Linked DNA regions of Homo sapiens: region 2 is linked to region 1. Evidence: promoter capture Hi-C in 16 types of primary human blood cells and fetal thymus (Javierre and others, 2016). All regions are on one chromosome and are shown on one strand. The core of a region is centred on a gene start or on the middle of the fragment in contact, and the rest is flanking DNA. Distances in the headings are between cores, read along the strand shown.

The links. The method cuts DNA at HindIII sites, captures the fragments that hold promoters and counts their contacts. A CHiCAGO score of 5 or more calls a contact.
Region 2: a contact is called between a fragment that was not itself captured here and the fragment with the promoter of CNBD1 in region 1, in 1 of 17 cell types (M2 macrophages). The highest score is 6.9, in M2 macrophages.

The regions. Positions count from the first base shown.
Region 1 is chr8:86,864,037-86,869,699 of GRCh38, forward strand. CNBD1 (cyclic nucleotide binding domain containing 1) reads left to right here and starts at 2,379. Exons shown (of 11, transcript NM_173538.3): 1 at 2,379-2,547. The coding sequence starts at 2,460. The HindIII fragment of the contact is 11,844 bases long and covers 1-5,493 here.
Region 2 is chr8:89,609,941-89,615,320 of GRCh38, forward strand. No RefSeq gene overlaps it. Among named protein-coding and RNA genes, the nearest start is that of PARAIL, 150 kb to the right of the region's middle. RefSeq lists an enhancer at 1,667-2,866. The HindIII fragment of the contact is 1,844 bases long and covers 1,093-2,936 here.

The DNA of each region.
Region 1 (5,663 bases), core at 1,129-3,628:
TGAACTACGATATTATATGGCATTCAGTGTGTAAAGTTTATTACATATGAAATACAGAAAAGAGAAAGGTGAAAATATGGAAAAGCAGGAAGATAACTAGAAAATAAATAAAAATAAGAACTGCTAACTTGGAATCAGAGAGGAAATCGGTCATCACAATTTTAGGGCCTTAGGAAACTTCCTCTCTTACATTTGTTTGATTAGAACTGTTCGTCAGAGAAAAAAAGCATTTTATATAGTCCCTTCTGCTTAACATCCATGAAAAATTCACGTCTTCATTTCTTTGGGTTTTAAATGTGCGACTAGGAAGAGAATGGATCTAGAAAACCTGTGGAATGATGGCAGTAGGGATTACCAACAAGGGGACAGTTGGAATGGCAAGGAACCATTCTGAAGTGGGAGCTAGGCAGGTGGCTAGTGTGGAAGGAATGCAAGATGAAGAATAGTGATGTGGCCGGGTGTGGTGGTTCATGCCTGTAATCCTAGCACTTTGGGAGACCAAGGCAGGCAGATCACCAGAGGTCGGGAGTTCAAGATCAGCCTGGCTAACATGGTGAAACCGTGTCTCTACTAAATATACAAAATCAGCTGGGCGTGGTGGCACCTGCCTGTAATCCCAGCTACCCGGGAGGCTGAGGCAGGAGAATCACTTGAACCCGGGAGGTGGAGGTTGGAATGAGTCAGAATTGAGCCACTGCACTCCAGCCTGGGTGACAGAGTGAGACTTGGTCTCCAGAAAAAAAAAAAACAATAGTGATGAGACTCAACAACAAAATTGAGTCTATGGTGAGTTTGGAGTTTGTAAAACTGGAAATAGGAAAATACATTCAATTGAAAAGTTATAACCTGAGTAAATTTATTGTGCAGATATAATTTAATAGAAACTGTTGCAAAATAAATTTGTTACTTTTGTAACATAATTAATGTTTTCTATTCTAGTTATTAATGTTATCTAGATGAAGTTGCTCCAGAAATGGTTGGTTTACACTCTGCTAGTCCAGTTCAGGTATCAGACAGCCACAGTCCTTTTGTATATTACCTGATGAAATGGGGGAGTTCCCTGATTCCCCTCACAGAATGTGTGACAGGGCTGTGGTTTGCCTGCTTGGTTGGTCATCGCTGCTGCTCAAACCCTGTGGGGAGGGGGAGCACACAGACGGACAGGTGCAGGAGCCCAAGTGGGCATTGTGTTGCAGTGTGCCCTTGTAGCCCTACCCTCCATGGATGGCTTGATGTTAACAAGCTCAATGGACCCTCTGCCTTTTCACAAGGGTAGAGGGCCAGTGTGATAGCTTTCTGTATCCTGAATTCTTGCCCAGCATCCCAGAAGTACTGGGTCACACATGGGCTTGAAGGAAGAACTCAGGGTTTTATTGAGTGGTGGAGGTGGCTCTCAGCAGGATGGATGGGGAGCTGGAAGGGGGATGGAGTGGGAAAATGATCTTCCCCTGGAGTTTGGCCGTACAGTGGCTGAACTCCTCTCAGTGTTCAGATGTTCCTCCTTTTCTCACTTTCTCTGCCTGTCATTCTGCCATTCATCTATTTGTCTCATCTCTTCGTCTGCTTCTGGAGCCTGGGATTCAGGGTTTATATGGGTACAGGATAGGGTGTGTTGCAGGCCAAAAGGCAACTTTTTAGGTGCAAAAACAGGAATGCCTGTCCCAATCTAGGGCCGCAGGTCTCCAGGCTTGAGGGTGGGGCCTTTACTGGGGAACTGCCCTCTTCTACCCAGTGTTTCCCTGTCTCCTGTCCGTATCACTCTAACAGTTATGATACCAGGACCCTATTTCTAAAGGCCTTGGAAGATAATACACAGCATCAAAAGATACATTAGTTAGGATTGTAAACCCTAGCCATTGTAACTATCCTTAATTATTGTGAAGCAGCAGAAAATAACAAAAAAACATGTTCCACACTCTAGCAGAATATAGTTAAATGTAAGCTGGGGTGGGTTTATTGGTGTATGATAATTAGAAGGGATGGTTTACCCTATAAATGTGGCCATGAAGAACAGTATAAATATGCTATCTCTGTTACTGCTGGTACAGAAAGGGCCTGTGATACCCAGTGTAAACATTTGGTAGGCAGGAAAAGGGCTCTGGACTATGGAAGACCAAGGAAGTGAATACTTTCATTTCACCTAGACTCATGAGTGCTGTTGATTCTGCTGTATCAGCCTTGTGGGCTACAGTTTCCTTCTTCATTATTGCTACTCTCTATAGCTCATAAAGTCCTCCTTATGATTTCCACTGGACTAAAATGTAGCATAGTTCTTCCTGGTCTAGATGACACTCTTGGAAATGCACAAACAATGGATAAGAACTATGAACAAGAAGATTCCGTAGGATTCAACCTATCAGAGAGGACCTTGAAGTTCTGCTTTATGAGCCTGCAGGCAAAGAGTGATCATTTGCCTCTCAAGCAGCCTCTGGTCATCTATCTGCCTTTGAGCCATCAAGATGCCGATGTCTTCTCTTCCAGCAGCTATTTTGTCTCACATGACAGCTATTAACAATGTGCCTCCTCCTCCACTTCACAGTATACCAAGTGAGTGGGAAATACTTTGATGCTCTTATTCACCTACCATTGTTTTCAGCGGTTCTTACCCCAGCTATGAAAATTGGGGGTATTTCAGGGTTGATAGGGACATTGGGAATCTTATTGACAGTGCTGAAGAATGGAAAGAACATAGATGTGTAAATCCTGCTTGGTCTACTTGAAGTCATTTCAGTACTCTAGGTCTTAAGTATTTTTTCTCTGTAAAATGAGGATCTTTACGAACTCTTAGAGCTTCAGATACATTGAAATATTTCTAAAGATGAAAGAAAACAAAGATTTAGAGAGGCCACATGTTCCACCAGCTATCAGGTTCCTTTTTCTAGCAGATCTTCTACTCCCTACCAAGAGTTGGTCCTACTACGCTTAATGGGATAATTAATACTTAATATTCTCTAGGAGAATTCTCATTTCAATTTGACAAGGAAAAAAAGATAATTCCTACTATTCTGACTGTGAAATTTATTCCTATTTAACTTTTTTATTTTCTAGTCTTACTTATAAGAATTAAGTATAGAACTAGATATTTCAAAGTTTATATAATTGACAGTATTTTCTCATTTTATGTAATTAGTCTAAACCTATAACGTTTTCTTAAGATTGTAAACACTTCTCATGGCCATCGAATTTATAAGATCTATTATTTGAACACCATCATTCTGACTAGCAATATGTATGAGTTCCAGTGTTAGTTAAGATTTTTAAAAAATATCTGGATAACAAAGGTAATACTTGTGATCCTTTTCAACTTCAATAAAGCATTAACTCTTATTTTATTATTCATTGGGCAGATTTATAGTATTGATTTGAAGAAGCTAAGCCATCCATCCTTTTCCCTTCCTGTGAAAGTTAATTTCTCCAAATACATTTTAAAAAATTAATGCTCATAGTCTCCAGGTTAAAAGGTATAACAGGTGGCAGTTGATACTCCTTGAAGGGGTACACTGATGTCTTGAATAGTGTTAGACAAAATCCTTATGTTAAACAAAATTAATTCCATTTGTATTATAGTGAAAATAATCTTGCATCTGGTCAAAGTTTTCTATTTCTACTTGAGTGGAAATAAGAATTAAGTGCAATTTTGCTGAAGAAACACAGCTTCTACTATTCATGTTTTATTTGTGAAAAAGAAAATAAAAGTCACCATAAAATAATATTTTTAAAAAGCCCAGGAAACTCGGTAGCTGGGAGTTAAAAGATCAAATTAATTTAGAATCAATGAGATGAGATTTGTGCTACCCTCTGTAGTGCCTCCCAAGGACACTTAACTTCTGTGAAGTGATTAAAAGACGAAAAATCAGCAGCAATTTAGATCTCAGAACTGAATAGAGCATAATGGAAAGCGGTGGAGCTCCCAGTGTTCCTTTAGAGGTTCGCACTTGATGTTTCTATGTCTGCAACTTCTCTTTGAGGACGTGCCCTGCTTGCCTTAATAACTGTGTCTTTTTGCTAACTGTAGCAAGACAATAATTTTCCTTAGCAAGCACTGATTGTCTCACTGCTGAAACAATGATCTCATGGAAGCCAATGTGTAATGAATGCTTTCAATTTATGAAATGACTGAACCTGAATTACAAAGGATATATAAATGAGTTTTAAATGCAGTGGGCATAAATAGGAATGCACATTTACATACCTAAAAAGAAAATCCAGCCATTGTATACATCCTTGATACTTTGTATTTGTTGAGTTAGGTTGGATTTAGTGACTCATATTCACCTTCTCTGTAAGTATTTATTTATTTATTTATTCATTTTTATTTATTTTTGAGATGAAGTCTTGCTCTGTTGCCCAGGCTGGAGTGCAGTGGCACGATCTCAGCTCACCACAACCTCCGCCTCCTGGGTTCAAGCGATTATCCTGCCTCAGCCTCTTGAGTAGCTGGGACTACAGGTGTGCCTGGCTAATTTTTGTATTTTTAGTAGAGATGGGGTTTCACTGTGTTGGCCAGGCTGGTCTCTATCTCCTCACCTCGTGATCTGCCCCCCTCAGCCTCCCAAAGTGCTAGGATTTACAGGCGTGAGCTACCACGCCCCGGCTGTCTGTATTTATATGTGAATATTGTTAATTGAGTGCTTTCTGTAGTTAGTATGTAAACATTTAGCACGTTATGTTATTTCATGTATTTCTTACAAGAACTCTATGTCTTCGGTGGACAGAATTAACGGTCCCAGTGATATCCATGCCTTAATTCACAAAACTTATGAATAGGTTATACTACATGTTAGGGGGAATTGAGGCTGCACATGCAATTAAAGCAGCTAATTGGCTCCACTTGAGATGGGAGAATATTCCGGTTTGTCTGGGTACCAGCCACAATTGTGAGAGCCCTTATAAGCAAAAGAGGAAGGCGAGAGAGTCAGAATGATATGTGAGAAAGACTCGACTGGCCCTTGCTGGCTTTGAAGATGGAGGGGGGACAAAAGCCAAGGAATTCAGGCAGCCTCTAGAAGCAGGGAAAGGCAAAGAAATGGATTCTCCCCTAGCGTCTCCAGAAGAATTGCAGTCCTGCTGATGTGATTTTAGCCCAGTGAAATCAGGTTCAGAGTTCTCATTTCCAGAACTGTTAGATAATACGTTTTTATTTTTTTAAGCCACTAAGGCAGTGGCAATCTTTTACAGCAGCAATATAAAATTAATACGTGTTCCAGTTTACACTTAAGGATAATAAGGCTTAGGTTTCATACTAAGGTTCACACAGATGTTAAGTAGCAGAGGCTCCTCGTAGCGTCATCTGTGTAAACAAACTCTACTCACAACAACAACAAAGCTGGCAGCATTCCGGGTTGCCCCTTACCTCCTGCCCTGAATTTCTTGCCCATTTGGCTACTTAAATGCTATTAATATATGGGAGGCAACATGTCACACATCTTCAAACCCTCCTCCACTGCTATCTTGTTGACTCTGAAATTCAGACTCAGACACTTCAAGTAGTTAAGCTTCTTGAGCTAGTTTGCTGCTTGTGGTTCTTTCTTCTTTGAAACTTTCAAGTCTTTTCCTTCTCTGGTCTCTTTGACTTCTGTCTCAGGATTCTTCACAGTTTGCTAACCTTAAGGGAGGAATGAATGTTCTCAAAAGCAGAAGAGCTGTTCCACTTTTCATTCTGG
Region 2 (5,380 bases), core at 765-3,264, 2.7 Mb after region 1:
AGTTCTAGACCAGCCTGGTCAACATGGTGACTCTGTCTCTACAAAAGATTTTGGTTTTAAATTAGCCAGGTATGGTGGCACATGCTTGAAGTGCCAGCTATTCAGGAAGCTGCAGCAGGAGGATCCCTTGAGCCTAGGAATTTGAGGCTGCAGTGAGCTATGATTGCATCACTGCACTCCAGCCTGGGCAACAAAGTGAGACCCTATCTCTTAAATAATAAAAATAAAAAAAAGTCTGCGTGTATTTTTGTGGTGCCCCTGGCTCCATTCATACATCAAATTATTTATGCTGTGACATAGGTTGTGTATTAAATTAAATCATCCCAAATGTATCTTTATCCCAATTTGGTAAAAAATGAATTTGGCTTTTTTGTGTGTCATGCAGTAATAAAGGAAATGGTCAATAATCAGAAGCTAAACTTTATAAACTCTTGTATCTATTTTTTAATAGATTGATGATGCATTTTATCTTCATTATTTCCACTCTGTAGTTTTCCTTAGAATTACTTAGTTGTTCACTTTGCACCTGACAGGGATGGTAAAGTGAACATCTTTCTAGGTAAAAAAGGGTGAATAAGATACTCTCCCTATTCTCAAGGCCACAATCTAATATGGTTAGTCTTTCTTACACAAAGCCATAAATTGATGCCCCTTCTCATTAGAAGCAACATATCTTTGTTTCTGTTTTGTTGGCTTTATAAATGTCTAAGCACAAGTGATCTATATGGCCAAACCACACTCCTTTTTATTCCGCTTTAGGTGTCCTGACCAGGACTTTTCTAGAACAATACTTGCCCTGTAGCTGCTATTCTGTAAAAACCTAGAAACTGCTTACTCCTGTTTTTTTCTCATGTTAATTGCATTTGTTTACATAAAATTTACAACAGCTATCAGGAACTGTATTTTGTTATCCTAAATTAGTGTTTCACAAACTTATTCTGGTACCTCAGCCTCCCTCAGATCCGTATAGACTCCACTTACTTTGGAACTCGATTGCTTTGTTTTTATTAGGGCAATCTTACTAAAGGAAAAGGATGCTAGGTCAACATGAAATGATACGGTAGTTAGCAAGATGATTCAAACATGTACAAAAGCTTGTTTTCCATCCAAATGTTATAGTATCTGACATTTCACTACTAGAGATTCATTCCTTTGTATTGTGTTCCTTACCATCTGCTGTAAGTGCTGGTAACATCACACTAATTTACACTGAAAGGACAAAGGGTTATGTTCTAGCAAGGACTTCCTGCTATGGATGCTTTAGTGAAGATTTTTCTTCATTATTTTTAGTAATACTATCAACCATTTATTGATTGCCTAATGCGTAATGAAGTACTACACATTTCACAGTTCTATTATTTAATATGTACAACAACTCTGTAAGAGGTGTTATTATCATCCATATTTTACAGATGAGAGGAAGTTTAGGAGAGTAGTTAGCACTGGCTCTGAGAAGAGATTGAAACAGTTAAAATTTCACATTCATTACTTACTAGCACTGTGTCCTTGGAAAACGTACAGTTTCATCACCTGTAAAACAAGGGCAATGGTATTTTCCTCCTGAGCTTGCTACAAAGGTAAACAAATGCCTGACACAGAGTGAGTCTGAAATACAGGGGCCATATAAGAATAAGCAAACAATGATCAGAGGTCAAGCAACTTGCCCAAGACACCAACAAATAAGAGCCCCATAGCCTGGACTACCTCCATGACAGTGTGATGATTTTTGCAAAAAGTAGGCATGTCTCTATACCTCTGAGTCTTTCCAAAACAATTTAGGTAAATAAATATAAAACAGGAAGACAATAGTCACTATGATAATAACAGACACTGCAAAATTGACTTATCTCCCCCAGAATGGGCCGTCTTTCCTAGCCAGCATCATTAAGGCCAGCTATGGATTCAGCAACAGCAGCTTCATTTCTCTTCCTGGCTTCATGTGGATTGGTTTTCCAGTCGATCTGTGACACTAATTCTCCTCTATTAGGAGCTCCGTGAGTCAGTGGCAATACCGAGGCTGAGTCATGTTGGGTAAGCAATGATGCAGTCCTGAGACATGAGAGATAGCAATTAAAAATGACCTTTGTTGTCTCCACACGACTGGCTCCATACTTTCACATTAGTATCAGCAAAGAAGGTATTTCCTGGCTCGTGAGTAGGAAATGTAACTGTTAACAAAGACATGATTATACAACTGAGAAGAAGAAACCGAGAGAATAAGGCTCCTACTCATGCTGTGATTGGGACTGAACATAAGTCTTCCATTTTGCTTTTTAGTTTATTCAACTTGGCACTGCAGACAACTAATGATTTCCAATTCAAACATTTTAAGTCTCTTTTTCTCTTACTGACATATTTTTTTCTCATCTAGCAATTTTTATTGCCCCCAGACCTAGTCTTTTGTGTCCGGTATTTTGCAAGAACTATCAGAATAATCAAACATAAACTTTAAGAAAAAAGTTGCTTTCTTCTACTCTCTCCTAATACCTCCTGCAGGGATATAAGAGATTGTCTACTTCTTCATTATTTTAACAAGGCTTCTTTTCCTTATAACACTAAGGTTGTATAACGATCTTCCCTAATTTTATTCCTTGGGGCTGAACAAGTCTGATAACTCCATTTCCAAAGTAAGAAAAGGAAGCCAAAATCATCAACCAGCTTTCTTTTTACCGAATGTTCTGTTTTTTTAAAGAAGAAAACCTTTCCTTTGGTAGAAAATGCCACTTGATTATGACAAACACTCGTGAAACTTCTGTCTTCTTGAAAATAGCGAATATCTTAAAATTCACAAAATTTTTCACAGATTAGAAGAAATTAGTTGGAATAGGTGTGCTCTTAAAGGCCAAACTACCTGAGCTCCGGCTCTGCTTTTCCCGCTGTCTCTCCAGCAGCATCATGTGGCGGTCCTGCCAAAAACTCACATTCAGCTGGTTCAAAGCTTAAAGCTCTACCCTATCCTCCAACTTTCCTCTCATAGAAAAGGGCGCCCCCAGCTTGCCTTGCAGATGTCTTCAGGTTCTCCCTCCCCTCACCACAGATACCCAGTTCATCACCAAGTGCTGTCAGCTCTCCATGTCAGCAGCTCTTGTTTCTGTCTTCTCTTTCTCATTGTCACTACTTGGCCCTCTCAAATGACCTATTGCAGGAACCTCATCAATGGTCTTCTTGCCTCCTCTAATATCCTTCACAGAGTCACCAACATTATCTTTCCAAAACAAAGATCAGTTTCCAGCTGCCTACAGAATGTTATCAAGACATAACCTGATAGCCACCTTCCTTCCTGATTCCCTCTCATTACATCCTCCCCACATTTTGGATGCTCTAGCCACACTGGAAAACTCACTGTTGCCCAAACATGCCCATCTCATTGCTCAGAGCACTTCTTCCTTCTCAATGCTTCCCCAACTTTACTTTTTCAAAGACGGAGTCTTGCTATATTGCCCAACTGGTGTGCACTAGCTATTCACAAGCACACTCATAGTGCACTACAGCCTCAAATTCCTGAGCTCAAGCAGTCCTCCTGCCTCAACCTGGACTACAGGTGCACACCACTGCGCCTGGCTCCGTCCCCTAACTTTTTCAAAGTAATGTTACTCTTTCTCTTCTTTGTGCATGATGTACACATTACATTTCATCATAGCGACCAGTGTGATCTTTTTTACAAAACCATCAAATAATATATTTTCTCTGCTTAAATTTTGTGAGCTTCCTCTAAATTCAGAATGATAGATTAGGTACTTCTAAGTGTATTATACAAGGCTCTGCATTTTTCTGGCTCCTGCCTTCATCTCTAGATCTCACTTGTACCACTCTTCTTCTCGCTCTCTATGTTCCTGTCATACAATCTCATTTTTATTCTGTAAAACTCCAATGTCATCCTCACCCTATGGTCTTTGCCCTACCTGCTCTGCCCTACTCCCTCTGCCTGGATTATTCTTCCCTCACAAACTAACATGACTGACTTGTTCAGGCCCTCAGAAGAGCACTCCACTGAAAATAGCCAACACCAACTCACTGCCAAAAAACTTCCTAAATTTTTTTCTAGCACCCGTCACTATCAACATCTCAAATTATTTTATGTGTATATTTCCTTTATGTTCTCATCTGTCTCCTTCCAACAACAGGTAAGCCCCTTGAGGACAGGTTGCTTATGGCTTTGTCCATCACTGAATCCTCAGCACCTAATACAGACCATGACACATTTGATGAGTGTATATTAAAATAATTAAATGGAAAATACAGCACTTGTCATGTATTATCTCGTTTTCAGTAAGTTGTGTACATGTCTTTCTCCCTAGACTGTAATCGTCTTGAAACCAGGGACTATGTACTAATTATATGTATATTCCCCCACAGCAATATCCCAAATTGTCATAGTAGGTATTCAGTAAGTTTTCTGGCTGGAATTGAGTTGAGTAACTCTGTCCTTCACTGAGCTATGCTTATCTCTCCAAATTTAAAGAGCATTTGATCTAGTAAGTTTGACCCCAGCCTCAGCTCTGTCAAATAAGAGCTGTGTGACCATAGTCAAGTAGCTAAACTTCTCTGACTCTCTCTGATTGCATATATGAAAAACAGAAATAATAAAATTTTCTCTGCCTAATTCCAGGGTAGTTGTGAGGATTAAATTAAATCACATAAGCCCTTTCTTCTCATTAAACTGCAAACAGTTCAAGGTCTGAGATACCAGTTGTTTCTTTTTTGCCTAATGTATAGAGAATAGCCTCATGCTGTGTGCACATAGGTCAATCAATAATAGCCATCATTTATCGTGTAGCTACTATGTGACAGACACTGTAATAAGCACCTTTTATAGGACACATCTTATTTAATGTAATCCTTAAAACCATCATGTAAGAATATATATTGGTATCCCCATTTATAGATGAGAAAAATGGCACCTACAGAAGGTAAGAAATGTTCACAAAGCCATACACTTAGTCACTGGCAATGCTGGGATTTGATAGCACATCTGTGTGAACAAGTAAGTGTAACTGCTGATACTTATCATTTGTTCAAACTACGCAATATCCAGACATTTCTTCAGAGTTCCTCAACTGCTTTGGTGTTTACTTGAAGCTAAGAAAATCCTTTCAGACTTTTTCTTTCAAGTCCTCCCACCCACGATACTAGCACAACTAAGGAACAAACTCCTGGCCTGAATTTGGCCATGTTCTCTCAGAACATTAAGTCTTGATAAGGATGACAATGGAAAGAGGAAAGAAAGAGAGTTCATTCTTACCAGCAATGGTTCTTGTGCAACATTACCCTGTAGTTTTCTCCAATCAAAAACTTCTGGCACTGCCTTTTCTCTTCTAAACCTGGTTCTCCAATCCTGTCTTCCTTACAGTCAGTTCCCAACATCCTTTCAATAAATTGT